Linked DNA regions of Homo sapiens: all the other regions are linked to region 1. Evidence: promoter capture Hi-C in 16 types of primary human blood cells and fetal thymus (Javierre and others, 2016). All regions are on one chromosome and are shown on one strand. Each heading gives the region's core, a stretch centred on a gene start or on the middle of the fragment in contact. The rest is flanking DNA. Distances are from core to core; before and after follow the strand shown. Region 1 holds the start of NEUROD1 (neuronal differentiation 1). Region 2 has its middle 19 kb from the start of EPCART. Region 3 holds the start of EPCART (ERG-positive prostate cancer associated androgen responsive transcript).

Region 1 (5,092 bases), core at 1,565-4,064:
GTACCCAAAGGGCTGCCTTTTGTAAACACGACAGTCACTGTAAGCACAGTGGGTTCGTTTCCCGGAAATGGTGAAACTGGCGTGCCTCTAATCATGAAATATGGCATTGAGCTGGGCACTCATGACTCGCTCATGATGTGAATGGCTATCGAAGGACATAATATTGTCTATGGGGATCTCGCAGCGAGGGGCAGCGGTGCCTGAGAAGATTGATCCGTGGCTTTGGGCCCCTGCCAGTGTCGCTGCAGGATAGTGCATGGTAAAGGCATAATTTTTCTCAAACTCGGCGGACGGTTCGTGTTTGAAAGAGAAGTTGCCATTGATGCTGAGCGGCGGGCTGAGGGGTCCATCAAAGGAAGGGCTGGTGCAATCAGTCAGAGGGCTTTCAAAGAAGGGCTCCAGCGCTGCGCTGTAGGCGTGCGGCGGAGGCTTAACGTGGAAGACATGGGAGCTGTCCATGGTACCGTAAGGCGGACTGGGCAGCCCAGGCGACTGGTAGGAGTAGGGGTGTACAGGGAAGGAAGCGCTGGCCGTCGGCAGGTGGGGGGGCATGTCCTGGTTCTGCTCAGGCAGAAAAGTCCGAGGATTGAGTTGCAGGCAGCCCGCAACCAGGTTGGTGGTGGGTTGGGATAAGCCCTTGCAAAGCGTCTGAACGAAGGAGACCAGGTCTGGGCTTTTGCCTGAGCGCAGGATCTCCGACAGAGCCCAGATGTAGTTCTTGGCCAAGCGCAGAGTCTCGATTTTGGACAGCTTCTGCGTCTTAGAATAGCAAGGCACCACCTTGCGCAGGTTGTCTAGCGCCGCGTTCAGTCCGTGCATGCGGTTCCGCTCCCGGGCGTTAGCCTTCATGCGTCTCAATTTAAAACGCTCCAGGCGAGCCTTAGTCATCTTCTTCTTTTTGGGGCCGCGTCTCTTGGGCTTTTGATCGTCATCCTCCTCTTCCTCTTCTTCCTCCTCTTCCAGGTCCTCATCTTCGTCCTCCTCCTCTCCCCCGTTCCTCAGTGAGTCCTCCTCTGCGTTCATGGTTTCGAGGTCGTCCTCCTTCTTGTCTGCCTCGTGCTCCTCGTCCTGAGAACTGAGACACTCGTCTGTCCAGCTTGGAGGACCTTGGGGCTGAGGCTCGCCCATCAGCCCACTCTCGCTGTACGATTTGGTCATGTTTCGATTTCCTACATTCAACAAGGGAGAGGCAAACAGAAAGAAAAGCAGAAAAACGCTATATTCAAAAGCCAGATACGCCTTCAGCTTCCACTCCCTAAACCTGTACAAATGCTTGCGAAAAGTACCTGCCCATTACAAAATGAATGCCTCTGAGAAAAAGTTAAATGCAGTGTTTTATAATGGCGCGTGCGTGTGCCCCGCTAGTACGTAGGAGTGAGGACAGGACTGGGGGAGGGTAGTGAATATGTATATGTGTACACCACTCACGCATATGTGTTTGTATCCTAGTGATTAACTTAAATGTGTTTATGGTGGTTGCCCGACAGGATAATGTGTGTGGAAATGACTGTACATTTCAGCGACTTCATGTTTATCCAAATGTGTTCAAAGTTACTCACAACTCCATAAAAAAAAAAAAAAGCTGTAAAATCACACATTCTACTTCCATTTCTGTCCTGGCTTCCAGATACTTAGCGATTTAAGTTGAACAGCCATTGCGTAATTTACTAATACTGGCAGCGATTTTTAAGAAGATTACATCGACGGGATACTGAAAAGCAAATGCAGAAAGGAGGAAAAATAGTTTCCACCAAATTGTTTCACCATCAATGTAACATTTGGCAACAAAAGTGGACAGGGTCTTCCACCCCTCCCTCGCCTTTCTTTTCTTGCCTTCCATCTCTGGCCCACCGCTAAATTTCCACCTTGTACAAAAGCGCTAGCTGCAGGGCGAGGGCTGGGGGCGCGGCGCAGAGCGCTCTCCCACGCGCCGGGGATCAGGTGCGGAAGGCTCCTCTCTAATAAACAGCCCATTGAAAGGGCCGCCCGCTCTTTATTGGGGCTTTTCAAAGTTCGCCTCAAACCTCCCTTTAAAAGATTGAGTAATTATAATGGTCAGCGATTGGCAACCGCGAAGTTGCCGCTTCTAGTAAGGAAAATAAAAAGCCTTTAGTAAAACAACTGAATTTCTGGCTCCAGTAGTGGCTGCTGGGGACTTGGCCGCCTCTGGAGCGGTAACAGGTAGCAGGAGTGAGTCCCTCTCCCTTTCTCCACTTTCCCCCCTCTCAACTAAACTATCTCTGAACCTGATTTATTTTCCATGGTGTGAATACTCAAGGTATCCATGTCCCTTTCATTCACTGAAAACACAGCTTGACACTCCCAATGTGCGTAAAATACATGCACACAAAATATATATTGATAACATAGATTTTTTTTTCTTACTGTAAGAAGTGAGAAAGTGAAGTCATTATTGCTTTTGGGACTTTAAAATCAGCACTAGCAGATAATCATAGTTACCGTGCATTCTTTTAAAAAATCCAAGAAGCTCCTATGCTATCCACAAAAGAAACCCAAATTTTTAAAATTTAAATTAGAAAGCCTGCAGGGGGTACTTGAGTGACACGACTCATTATGTGTGAGTACTTATGGGCAATTATGGAGGGGGATGCTGGTCTCAATACACATACACACTCTCGCAAACGCACACATACAGAATATGTAGGTTCATCAGTCTTCAGTTATTGCTTCTATTCTGGGGCAAAAAAATGAAAGAACTGTAATTACCTTTGTTGTTAGTAGGTCCTGAGCAGTGATAGTCTCATAACCCTGGGGCCTCCGGACGCCGCGCCTCCTGCGTGGGCGAATTCCTCGTGTCGTGGCCGCGCGGGCGCTCAGGTTATATAGCCCAGTTAGTGATGCTAAGCGCGGGCGGGGCCGCTAGCTGAGGGGCTAGCAGGTCTATGCGCCTGACGCCTGCGCACGCGTCCAGGCTGTGCGCTCCCCGTTCTCCCCTCCTCCCCACTTCTCCCCACGCCTTGCTCGTCTCCCGCCCTCCTCCGACAACCGCTCCCCTCACCCTCCACCCCTACCCCCGCCCCTCCTCCTTCCTCCCCGGCATGCGCCATATGGTCTTCCCGGTCCAGCCAAGAGCCTGGAACCACGTGACCTGCCCATTTGTATGCCGCGGAGCGCTCCATTCCGGCCCCTTTGTGGCCAGAAGAAAGTGGCCCATCTGTCGCCAGTTAGAGACTCCGCGGACCTGTTTTTACCCGCAGGAGAGATTAACCCTTTCAGGCGGCAGAAGGGACGGGGATAGAGGGGGGAGGGGATTTGAGGGAAGGAAGGGAAAAGCTAATGTTAACTAGGTCTAGATCAGAGCGAGTGGCCTGCTTTCGCGCCGGAAGTAGGACAGAGGTGAAAGAGGCAGAAGCGGGGAGACTGAGGCACGCAGTGAAGAGTCCTCGCTCCTTTCGATTTCTTGTCCTGACACTGGCATCCAGAGCAGCATGACTCCTTGCCCTCTCTGAAAGGCCCATCCCTTGGCTTCTTCTCCTTGGCAGACGCTTTGATCATTGGCGCCAAAGGATGGCTTCTCCTAATCTCCGTCGGCCCCTCTAAGCAAACATATACGCCATATAAAAGCGGCTTCATCTGTAAACGCAGCGTTGAGATTAGTTCCCCAACCTCCCTAACCGGATCGTCCTCTCCCAGTTCCTTCAGTACAGAAAAGTTGTACCTGCCATTCTATCCCTACCATACGTGCAATTCTTCATGTCCTGACCTTCAGCTACGACTGTTCCTCCAGACCCTCTCACTACGTCAGTCCCCACCTCCATCCCCAGGATCTTGTCCTCAAAGCGAGCTAGTTCTCGCGAGGAGGCCTTGGTTCCATTGGCCTTTGCGCTCTCTTATGTGGGAGCTGGGGACTTCTTTGACGGTTGTATTCTGCCTTTTAACCATGGCCACTGGGTTGCTGGAAAGGGCACCCTCACTCAGCCAGTCCAGGGACGCTTCTGGTTCCCTGGCCAGCCCGCCCTGGACGGCCTCGGCTCTCTAGTCCAGGCATTGACCACAAGTACGGTGGTGGACACCTCGCCACAGCCGGACCTGCGCTCTTGCTCCCCTCAGTCTCGGGTCTGTATAAGATACTTGATTCAGACAAGCGTTTTCAAAGAGAAGATGCAATGGGCCTGTGCTGAACGGGTCTTTCCGATCTCTTTCTAGAAACGCCTTTAGCACAACCCCGGAAGGATTAATGGCTGCGAACTCCTCCAGACTTCAAAGCCTCTGATTTGAAACTCCCAACTTGAAGGTCAAGCAAAGACCACAGAAATTCTCGACCAGTTCTGAAGGAGCCATATTGTTGCCCAAATAGCAATTCTTTACTCTTTTCGAACAAGGGTTTTCCAGAATAATAGATTTTAAAAAGAAAGAAAGAAACTGGCCTGTCTACTCGTTCTTTCCCAGCTTTGCCTCTAATCCTTCATTAACTAACTCCTTACCCCCTCCCAGACCTGAAACCCTCTGCAATAAATACCTCTTACGTGAATTGCTTATTTAAAGGCAATTGCACTAAACATCCCTCGAGTTTGCAAACAGCGACAGGGTTGAGAGGCTGGATTGGGGTGCATCTGGGAGAGGGTGGGGACGGGAGGAGAGAGTAGGGGTAGAGGAAGAGGGTCCTAGCCAGATCCCCGGTGTCTGAAGGTAGCAGGTGCAGCCTTCCCTGCACAGTACTAATCTAAAAGGGGAAGAAAAGAGTTGTGCCACCGAAGCGTGGCGTGAATCGTTGTGGGGTTCTGGAGTTTTGCTTGCTTTTCTACATTCACTTGGCTGACAAAGCGCATAGGGGAGGATAAAATAATTCACCCAGGAGCCTGGGCCCAGGATTTACCCCTGTACTGTCTGTATCTTCAGTGTTGGGCTAAAACTCGAGGGCGTCGGAGTACTAGCCCTTAGAAGATAGTACACAGCCCGACGTTTGCGGCAGGGCCAGGTTAAGTACTGCCCCTCACCCGGCAGCTGCCCCGACTGGCAGCACACTATGCCGCAGGCATATGCAACTCGTGCCTAGGCTCTCATTTTTCCAACTTTGGGGAGTTCCGGAGGAGAACTGGGGACGGAGTGGGAGAAAGGACTCCAGCTAGCT
Region 2 (5,092 bases), core at 850-3,349, 1.6 Mb before region 1:
ACCTGTATGTCAGGTCAAGTTTGTCAGGTCTCTACTGCCCTTTTTTTTGAGACAGAATTTCACTCTTGTTGCCCAAGCTGGAGTGTAATGGCATGATCATGGCTCACTGCAACCTCCGCCTCCTGGGTTCAAGCAATTCTCCTGCCTCAGCCTCCCAAGTAGCTGGGATTACGGGCGTGCACCATTACGCCAGGCTAATTTTTTGTATTTTTAGTAGAAATGGGGTTTCACCATGTTAGCCAGGCTGGTCTCAAACTCCTGACCTCAGGTGATCTGCCCTCCTCAGCCTCCCAAAGTGCTGAGATTACAGGCATGAGCCACCGCCCCTAGCCACACGTTTGTTTTATATATTTAAAACTGCATTATTTAGTGCATATAAATTTAGAACTACAATTATTCCTAGTCAATTGATTACTTAGTATCATAAAATACAAAATATTGCTTTCTCTATCTAGGAATACTTCTTGTCTTCAAGTATGTTTTGTATTAAATAGCTACAGTAACTTTTTGTTGGTTCATGTTTGCATATTTTCATCCTTCAACCTCTCTGTGCACGTATATTTAAAGTGTTTCTTGTAATTAGCATTATAGTTTCTTTTAAATCCAGTCTGATAATATTTTAATTGGACTAATGAGTCAATTTGTGCTTTATGTGATTACTGATTTGAGTTTTGTATCTACCATCTTATCATTTATCTTATAATTCCCACTTGTTTTTAATTTTTTCTTTTTTCAACCTTCATTTGGATCAATCAAAATCTTAAAATTTATTTTCTTTTTTTTCCAACTACCTTTTTATTTTCATCTTCTTACTTTTTGAAACAGAGTTTTGCTATTGTCACCCCGGCTGGAGTACAGTGGTGCAATCTTGGCTCACTGCAGCCTCTGCCTCCTTGGGTTCAAGTGATTCTCCTGCCTCAGCCTCCCAAGTAGCTGGGATTACAGGTGCCCGTCATCACACCCGGCTGATTTTTGTATTTTTTGTAGAGATGGGGTTTCACCATGTTGGCCAGGCTGGTGTCGAACTCCTGACCTCAAGTCATCCGCCTGCCTTGGCCTCTCAAAATGCTGGGATTACAGGTGAGAGCCACCACGCCCAGCCGTCGACTAGCTTTATAGTTATACATCCTTAAAAATAATTCTTTCAGTGGTAACCCCTGTGATTTTAAACACACATTCATTACTTAATAGAGTCAAATATGAATTTGTATTTTTTTCTACTTCCTAGACATGTAAAATACTTAGAACACTACATTTACTCCCCCAACTTTTGCCATTTATGTTATTTTGGCCAGCCATTGAAATTCTACACATATGCAAACCTTTATAAGACATTATTATTGTTATTGATTAACATTGACATTTATTTAGATTTTTCCTTATACTTAACATTTCTACTGTTTTACATTTCTTTCTTTCTACAGTAATATTGCCAAAAGCTTTGGTGTCTTCTCCACTTCTTATCAGGGTTTTTTCTCTGCTAGGAATTCTGGTCTCTACTCTTGCAAGCTCTAATTTTGAATTGACAAATAAAAGGAAAAATGAACTAACAGAATGTTGGCTTACCCGTCTGTGGTTCCTTTCTGTTCATGACCTTGCCCCCTCAATCATTGTCACAGTAGTGCTCTAATTTTTATTTGTATTTTATTTTTTGTATTTTATCTATTGTTATCAGAAGGGAGACTTCTGGAAATTATTTTTACATAGAGGGAAGAAATATTCTCATATACTTTTAAAAAATAGTCTCCAAATTGACAGAAATGATAAATGAAGCACATAAATAATTCTGATTTAGAATATAGTCCAGGCATGATTCACTCAGTCATGTCTCAGTATAACATTTAAAGGTATACTAGAGGCTTAATCTTGCCAGGTAATATTCCATGGTAGGTAAGTTTTCAAGAATAAGAAAACAAGATCTCCTGAGTTTATATTCTTTTGGAGAGGGATTTGGCTGGAGGAAGACATAGATAATATATAGTATATTATATATTAATGGGATAATTAAGAGAATAAAAAATACTACAAAAAATAAAGCAGGGAGATTTTATATAGAGAGACTGGGAGGCAGTGGAATCAGGCTATCGTAGACTTAGTACTCTGCATGGTTAAAGACATTTCTGTAGAGGTCATATTTTGAGAACTAAACGAGAAATAACTGGACTTATATAGACTTAGTGACAGAAGATTCCTGGGAGAAGAAATAGCAAGTGAGAAGATCCTAAGAGGTAAATGGTTTAGGCATGTTCATACAGAAATCTTGAGTGGCTTAAACATAGAGGATGAAGGGACAAATGATGTGAGATGCGATCAGAAATATACCCAAGGCTCAGATTAGTGGGTTGAGTTTTACTCAAATGCAATAGAAATCCACTAGAGAGTTTAAAATAAAGAGATGATATGAATTATGTTTTAAAAGATCATTCTGGCTCTGGTGTTGAGAATGATTTACAGGGCACTGGAGAGGAAGTAGGAAGGCCAGGTAAGGGTAGATCAGGTTAAGCATGGTAGATTGGACACATGTTTACCTTGGTTCTCTCCTGTAATTCTACTAAAATGATAGAGAAGGGATTAAAAGGGGATGAACTCAGAAAGAAAAAAAGAACTAGGAATGGGAGGTAATAATAACTACATTATATGCATTGAGCAGGAAAATGGAGGTTTATTATCTAGAGAGCTTTGGGACATCTGACTCAGTTCAGGAAGATGGGTGTCATCTTGAACAGTGAGATTAAATCAAAGTGTTCATATTGAACATAAAAGCTTCCAGCTCCCTCCCTTCCTCCACGTAGCTAAGATTGCTTCTTAGGCTTATGTTCCTCAGGCAGGAGATTGGAGCATTCATTTCTGAGGCTATTTAACAGCTTAAGATTGTTAATGAGAAGCACCACTTAACATCTCCTTATGCTATTTTATCAATTGAAAGAATTTACTGGGTGACCTGAGAACATTTAAACCACACAGAGGTTTTGGTAATGGTCATGGCCGCTATCTCCTTACTTTGATCCTTGCTTAAGGGTGAGTTTTAATGAGCTTCCCTTGCTTTAAAACTTTCTTAATTTTAAATTTGAAAATTAGTTCTCTCTTCTAACCTAATATGTTCTCCAATTTCTGGGCTAATTTTCTTTCATTCTTTTCATTCCTACTTGAAGGCTGAACAGTTTTTTTTTTCTGATCTCATGTATTTCTTGTAATATGCCATCAAGCATTACCCACAGAGACCTATCACAGAATTTAGTTCTACTTTTCCTTCCTCTACATTTGGAAATATGAGATCATTAAATAACATAATCCTTCTCCAGGTTCATAGTTGTACCAAATATTTTGCCACTAAAAAGCACGAATCACCATCTTTCCTGCCTTCAATATTAGTTTCTTCACTCCCTGCTATCTCGACACTGAGCCAATGTTACATATTTGATATTTATTGTTATGGCAGTGCCCCACTGTGGTCCCAGTGATTGAATTGGTCAAGATAGCATAACTTAGGCTAGCATAACAAACAACCCCCAAATCTGCCTAAATACAACTAAATTTTTTTTTGCTTGCTCGAGCAATATCTATGCAGGCCCAGGTGTCTCTCCAGCTGACTCTCTAGCTGTTCTCTATGTATTGGTTCAGTATTCCAAGCTGCTTTGATTTTCATATCAATACATCACTATGCATCACTATGATACGAAAAAACTGGAGATTTAACCACTTCATTTAAATACTTCCATCTAGAAATGACAAGATTAGTTTTTTTCTAATGATTTGCCTGAAATAAGACTTATGGCCATGCTAACTTCAAGGTGTAGGAAAGTGTAGTCTGCCCTTGTGTGCACAAGAGGAGGAGAACCAGATATTAATGTTAGTAATATGTACTACAGAAGATATCGCATCTCCTAAACAAGAAAAGGATACATCCTCCTTCACCCCCCTTTTCAGAGACAGCGTCTCAGTACATTTCTCAGGCTAGTTGGTCTCCATCTCCCATAACTGCTAGGCTCAAGCGATCCTCCTGCCTCAGCCTCCCTAGTAGCTAGGACCACAGGCACAGGCCATTGCATCTGGCTAGAGATGGTTTTCTTCAAACAAGACATAAGATAAACTTTGAGAATAAAAAAATTCTTGAGAAAAATTGCTAACAGACATGTTAAAAGGTCTTTAGAAGTGTCAGAAAAATTGAGAAATGTCCAGAAAATAGAGCAAAAGTAAAAACAGACAGGACTTTGAGAATTTTTATGTTCAGAAAGACTGTCAATGGAGTGTGAAGATTTAAAAAAATTTTCTAAACACAAAGTCTCAAAATATTGGCCTATGAAGCATATTTCCTTAGAAATTAACTAGGGAATTTTCATCACAATAAAGGAGTAAACCAGAAAGTTGACATGGGATCCAGGAAACAAGGGTCCAGGCATTGATAAGACACCAAGGGAATTCCCAGGATGAAAGTGATAGGAACCCAAGGGATCACCGACACACATGCTGCTGGCCCAGTCCGGATGATCAGTCTGGAGAGAAACAAAAGGCTTCAGTAGTTATCTCTCTAAGAAAGATAAGGACATGCAGGGATTACCTGATATGTTTCAATCTGTAAGGGAAATTTACATTTTGCACTGTGGGTTTAGAGATGAATTAATGAAAAGAGATTTTTCCTTTCCTGAAGAATGTTTTTAAGAAGGAAACACCTCATTTGCTATTATATGAAAACTAAAATCTCCAATCAATCTCTTGCCTAAGGTTTAAAGTCAAAACAAATCAGTAAAATATTTATTTTGAAAAAGTAATTCTTAAGATGGTATCTTTGGTTAAAATATGAAGGTCCTAGGTGAGAGAGAAAGGAACATGTGGCAGAACTTATTAACTTGATTCTATTGTGATTCTACATTGGCTCTAATAGTACCCTAGAATTTTTTTTAGTGCCATAATGTGTTAAGTCTTATGAAAATAAAATGGCTTTGATAATCATTTGTATGTTGTTTAATGCAAGAAATGAGACCCACGTTCTTGTTTATGTTCTAATATCAATGAGCTCTATTTCCTAACATATCTAAGCCTTGGTTTCTTTGTATTTTTTTTTTCCAGACAGGGCTCTCTAGTAACAAATGCT
Region 3 (5,092 bases), core at 756-3,255, 1.6 Mb before region 1:
TATTTCTACCACTCTCACTATGCCTCAGATGATGGTAACTCCATCCTCTCTGCAGCCCCAGTTCCCATCCCCACCACTCAGGCCTACCTGTGGCCTAGCTTCCACCAAGTAGCCCTGGGCCCTGGACCCTGGACCTGTGGGTCCCTCCAGGTGAAGGTGGCAGTGGCTTTCTGCTGCCATCAATCCAAGGTTTCTTTTTTCTCTCTTGGATCATGATTAATACAACTAGGCAGATTTGGGCTAGCAGAAGGGAAGCTATAGAGGGACAATTGGGAGGAGAAAGGAGCCCAAAGTCCTCCACATGAAGTGCTTATGGGGTGAGAAGCCTCATACTCCTCCCTTATGAGATTGTGGGTGGCACTAAAAGAAGGGAATCAGTATCTTATTTCCCAACTGGCTATTTCCTTAATCAGACGCTGAGTCAGGGAGAAGCAGCCTGTGGAGAGAAACAAAGAAGGTGGTTGCCATGGAACAGAGAAGATTCTGGCTTTGGAGTGACAAGAATGTACAAATCTCCCAAAGGCTGCGTGGATATGGGGAAAAGTAGCTGAACCTGAGTCATCTTAGCAGTACTTCCACCTGAGTCCTATTTACAGGCTGTAGATACTCCAGTGGGAAGAGGTTAATGGGGGAAGCTGTAAAGGGGTAGGAAAGACTGGCTAGAGTTGGATTTACCATGTCAGGGAGACTCTTCAGGGCCTTCTGAACTTACCCAATATCCCCTGAGGTAAGCAGTATTTCGGCACAGAGAGGACATCTATTGGTAGCTGGTGTTTTCTAGATGAGCAGCAATACCCAACAGAAAATTCTGCAACAAAAAGAATTGGGTGAAGAGACTATTTTGTTTCTTCTCCTCTGATCCCACCTCAAGTCATTAAAGAAGCTAGATCTTGATGTGGAGAAAGAAGAGGTTTTGTGCAACCAGATTGGCTTCATGGTTTTGGAGTCGGGAGGAGGGGCAGGCCAGACCCCTTTGGGGCGCCTGTTTTACAAGCTGAGCTAGGTAAAATTACATGATTTATATGAACTATGACAATGATCAATTATCAATGGAATCTGCCTGAGATATCATTCAGGGGCAAGAAAGCAGAAGTTGACCAATCATATGATTAGAAAAAGAAAATTGCTTCTGATTAATATCCATTGAGTTCAAACCATTTAGTGAAACAGTTACCCTTAAACTATCAGCTCATCTAGAACAGAGTTTTGCAAACAACATTTTGTGGGCCAGTAAAACAGATTTTTAACACCTTGCATTTTTACCTCTCTGATCCCTTCTCAGAACCACCAGCAGATTTGACAACTGTTTTCCTCCTTACTCTGTCTCTTCCTTGACTATACAGTAGAAAATAGAGAATTCAATTTATTCAACTCTTTGTAATGTATGTGGTTATTTGAATCCTGTTGTATTCATACAGAACATGAGCTTTGTTCCTATATTTTCATATAATTGTTAATAAGTTATAAGAAGGTTTGAGGCTGTGGCATATAAACACAGCACATAAACATATATTTCTATATAACATAATCTTCCCACTTTTACTACATATTTTTACTAGACTGTTCTGGAAAAGCTATTTGTACATATTTCTTTGTGCACACAAGTTCCTCAGCTAACGGCTTTGCTCTGTTTTTATAGAACATGTTGTATATGGTTAAAAAATGTCTTTCACATAAGCCACATTTTTCCTGTTTTTGTTTACTTGTCTGTATTGCACCTCAATTAGCAAATCGTGCAGTCTTCTCTCCCTGTCATAATAACATAAACTATCTCCATTTTAGGCTGTTCGATGTAAAACAAAAATCCCCAAATTTCCACTAGATGGTGCTATGAGAATGCAAACTTCTTTGGTCAGGGTATATATAAAATCCTCAGTTATTGCAGCCTGTTATTTTGGCTTGTGAAACAGGTCTGCCCCCCACTAAATTAGATGCACAGGGATGATTTAATATTTAGTTAAGAGACGATGCAATATTTCCCACAAGTCTCTGAGGAGCCCAGGCAAAACAATGAAGAGGCATTTTTCGTCTAATCCTCATCCATACCACTTCTTCTTACCTGGCCTTTTTGGTATGCTACTCCATAGATACCTAGGAACAACCCCATAGTGGCAACATCTTTTGACCCCGGTCACTGCCACCGTCTATGGCTTCTTTACCCAGTCTTCCCTCCTTGGCTGGAGGGGGCTAATGGATTTATTACATTACTGACTGTCAGCAATTATTTTTTGACAATTTGTTCAGTGGTTTTCAAAGTGTGATTTCCCAGACCAGCAGTGTCATCTGGGAGGTTGTTACAATTGCAAATTCTCAGACTTCAGCTCGGACCTACTGAATTGGATGGGAGTGGAGACCAGCAATCTGCATTTTCACAAACCTCCCCGAGGTGATTCTAATGTGTAGGAAAGTTGAGAACCAGTGTGTTAAATACTTCCTGGGAACAAAACTGCCTTATCCTATTTGGATTAACCTCATTCCTGAAAGCCCTCAAAGAACAACTTTAAAGGTGGATAGGTGGGTGAAGAAATTTTTAAAGGTGTTGCCAGGTACAGTGGCTCACCCCTTTAATCCCAGCACTTTGGGAGGCTGAGTCAGGTGGATCACTTGAGCCCAGGAGTTCAAGACCAGCCTGGGCAGCATGCTGAAACCCTGTCTGTACAAAAACAAACAAACAAAAAATTAGCTGGGCGTGGTGGTGCACGGCTGTCCCAAGCTACTCAGAAGGCTGAGGTAGGAGAATCCGTTGGGCCCGGGAGGTTGAGGCTGCAGTGAGCCAAGATGGCGCCACTGCATTCCACCCTAGGCAACAGAGTGAGACCCTGTCTCAAAAAGGAAAAAAAAGTTTAAGGCGAGCATTTGTTCTACTTGGCCTACTCTGCTTTCCCTTTGGGTTGCTCTGCTCCCCTTGGGCTGCTTTGCTCTCCCTTTGGGTTCTGCCTGTCACTGAGGAGTCCTCACTGCAAAGGAATAGTGAAGCCTGTATCTAATGTGTAAATGTAGGAGAGTATGATTAGTAACTCACTTTTTTTTTTTTTTTTTTTTTAAAGAGATGCCCAGGAAGGCAGCCAGATGGCAGCATCGTTCCTACACTGTCTCTGCACTCCCAAAGGCAGTTTCTGGCCCTTTACTGTAGTCAAAGGAGATCGCGTAGCAGCGGTCGTTTATTGGCTAGGCTGTTTGTCTTTTTTCTCTACTGCAGCATGAGTCAGAACCCACAGAGAGAACCAGAGAGGAACAACCCGTTGATTAATGGGTCAGAGAGCTATGTAAGACTGTGATCTCCTATTGTCCCTGTTTCACGGAACAAATGTGGGGGATGCTACAAAGATTCAACACTAGGTAGACATCTAATGAAGCTGGGTTGCCATCAATCAGTTCAAACAGGTGTCTGGAATAGCTGTGTCTTCTGTCTTTTGATAAACACTGAGTACCTGCACATACAATTCCCTGGGAGCTTTTAAATCTCCTGATGCCCAGGCTGCACCCTAGACCAACCACATCAGAATCAGGAGAATGGTTTTAGGGCATCAGTACAGCTTTAAATCTTCCCAGGGGATACTAATGAGCATGAAGGGCTGGGAACCATGATATTAAAGACGTTGAGATGAAATTTGTGGCAAAGTTATTTCAATTGAGAAACCTGGGTTATTGTCTTATACCGTACTGTCAATTTCAACAGTGGAGTTTGTTGTTTTGGCCAGTTTTGATCTTGGCAAGTTTCGATATTCGAAATGGATTTTGTTGTATGACAGAAGGGGGCATCATCTCCTCTCCACCCCACACCACCTCCTTCTCTCTTTCCCCCTCCTCCTTCTCACTTGTTGTTCTGTTTTGTGTTTTGTTTTGTTTTGGAGGGGTGAAGACTGAAAATTTAAAACTGTGGCTACAAAATGGGCATATTACTGCTACTTAAAAGAAAAATTCTGACCAAAAATATATAGTCAATATTCTGAGTTTAAAATATTCTAAACTGTAAAAACCTTCTGTTTTTGCCTTCTGCCACATGTTCTTAGGTACCCTCAGGCTACAGTCCTTATTTTAAAGGATATGATAGTAAGAAAGTTACATCAGCCTTGATGAAAAGCTGTGAATTTAATCTTAGGAGCTCACACTGACTAGAGAGAATGAAAACATTCTATCATAATTGCTTGAAAAACTGTAGAACTACTCACTAGAGTTGGATATTGGTCTATAACCAAAACTCCTTTTGTATGGAACAAAGTGAGTTTCATGAAACTCTTTGTAAAAGATTTTCTTTATCCTGGAAAATCCTATATGTTTCCATGTAAAATTCTTAATAATAGGTAGAATGAAAGCTGGAGGGAAATATAATTGTGACATGTGAAGTATGAAATATACTTCAACTTAGTATAGAAGTATAGGCTTAATTCTTTGCACCAAGGGGCATCTAGAAACCATCTCCAGAAGCTTTCGGTGATACCTTATTAATCCTTCTCTAGGTGTACCACTTAGGAAATGTAAATGGTACTAAAAGAAATAATTTGTTAGGTCCTTAATCCCACAAAAGTTGATTAAGTCATTGTCTGTGAATAAAGACTAGGTGAGAAAATTGGGAGCTTTGGGAAAAGGGAGCCCAAGGAAAAAGTGGAACAGGCTGGAAAAAAAGGAAAGTGAATTAAAGAATAGGGAATCAGATTTCTTTTCCATTTTGACTTAAGGATATGTCAGGGCCAAAACTATAGAAATTTGAAATTGGTTCATTTAGAGGATCAATGCTCTTTTTTCAAGTGATTTTTTTCCTAAGTGATTCTTTTCCTAAGCAAGTCACACTGATTTTTTGGTTTCCAAACTCATTGACTTATGGGCAGTTTGGAGAATTAAAAAAAGGTATAGACTACTAAGGCGTCTTGTGTACCAGACAAAGGTTTCTTGGATTCTGAGGATTTATTTCATTACTATAGATATCTCTAAGGCAGCATGACCTATAAATAATTTAGGCAATCTCCTACATATGGAGAAATAATAATTAGGAAGGGGCAAACTTTTGAAATTACAGTTTAGATTTAGTTTAGATTTAAAATTGCACACACAGTCTCCCTAACAAACGTTAAGCACTTCTGTCTGTTGGAGA

Evidence for each region. Contacts are between HindIII fragments. The CHiCAGO score rates a contact against its expected background, and 5 or more counts as called.
Region 2: a contact is called between a fragment that was not itself captured here and the fragment with the promoter of NEUROD1 in region 1, in 2 of 17 cell types (endothelial precursors and naive CD8 T cells). The highest score is 7.5, in endothelial precursors.
Region 3: a contact is called between a fragment that was not itself captured here and the fragment with the promoter of NEUROD1 in region 1, in 1 of 17 cell types (total CD4 T cells). The highest score is 6.8, in total CD4 T cells.

Annotation. Positions count from the first base shown.
Region 1 is chr2:181,677,703-181,682,794 of GRCh38, forward strand. It overlaps NEUROD1 (neuronal differentiation 1), which reads right to left and starts at 2,815. Exons shown (of 2, transcript NM_002500.5): 1 at 2,728-2,815; 2 at 1-1,169. The coding sequence starts at 1,158. The coding sequence ends at 88. RefSeq lists an enhancer at 3,465-4,041. The HindIII fragment of the contact is 9,386 bases long and covers 1-5,092 here.
Region 2 is chr2:180,103,456-180,108,547 of GRCh38, forward strand. No RefSeq gene overlaps it. Among named protein-coding and RNA genes, the nearest start is that of EPCART, 19 kb to the right of the region's middle. The HindIII fragment of the contact is 1,324 bases long and covers 1,438-2,761 here.
Region 3 is chr2:180,122,621-180,127,712 of GRCh38, forward strand. It overlaps EPCART (ERG-positive prostate cancer associated androgen responsive transcript), which reads right to left and starts at 2,574. Exons shown (of 4, transcript XR_923634.3): 1 at 2,060-2,574; 2 at 713-808. The HindIII fragment of the contact is 4,841 bases long and covers 1-4,426 here.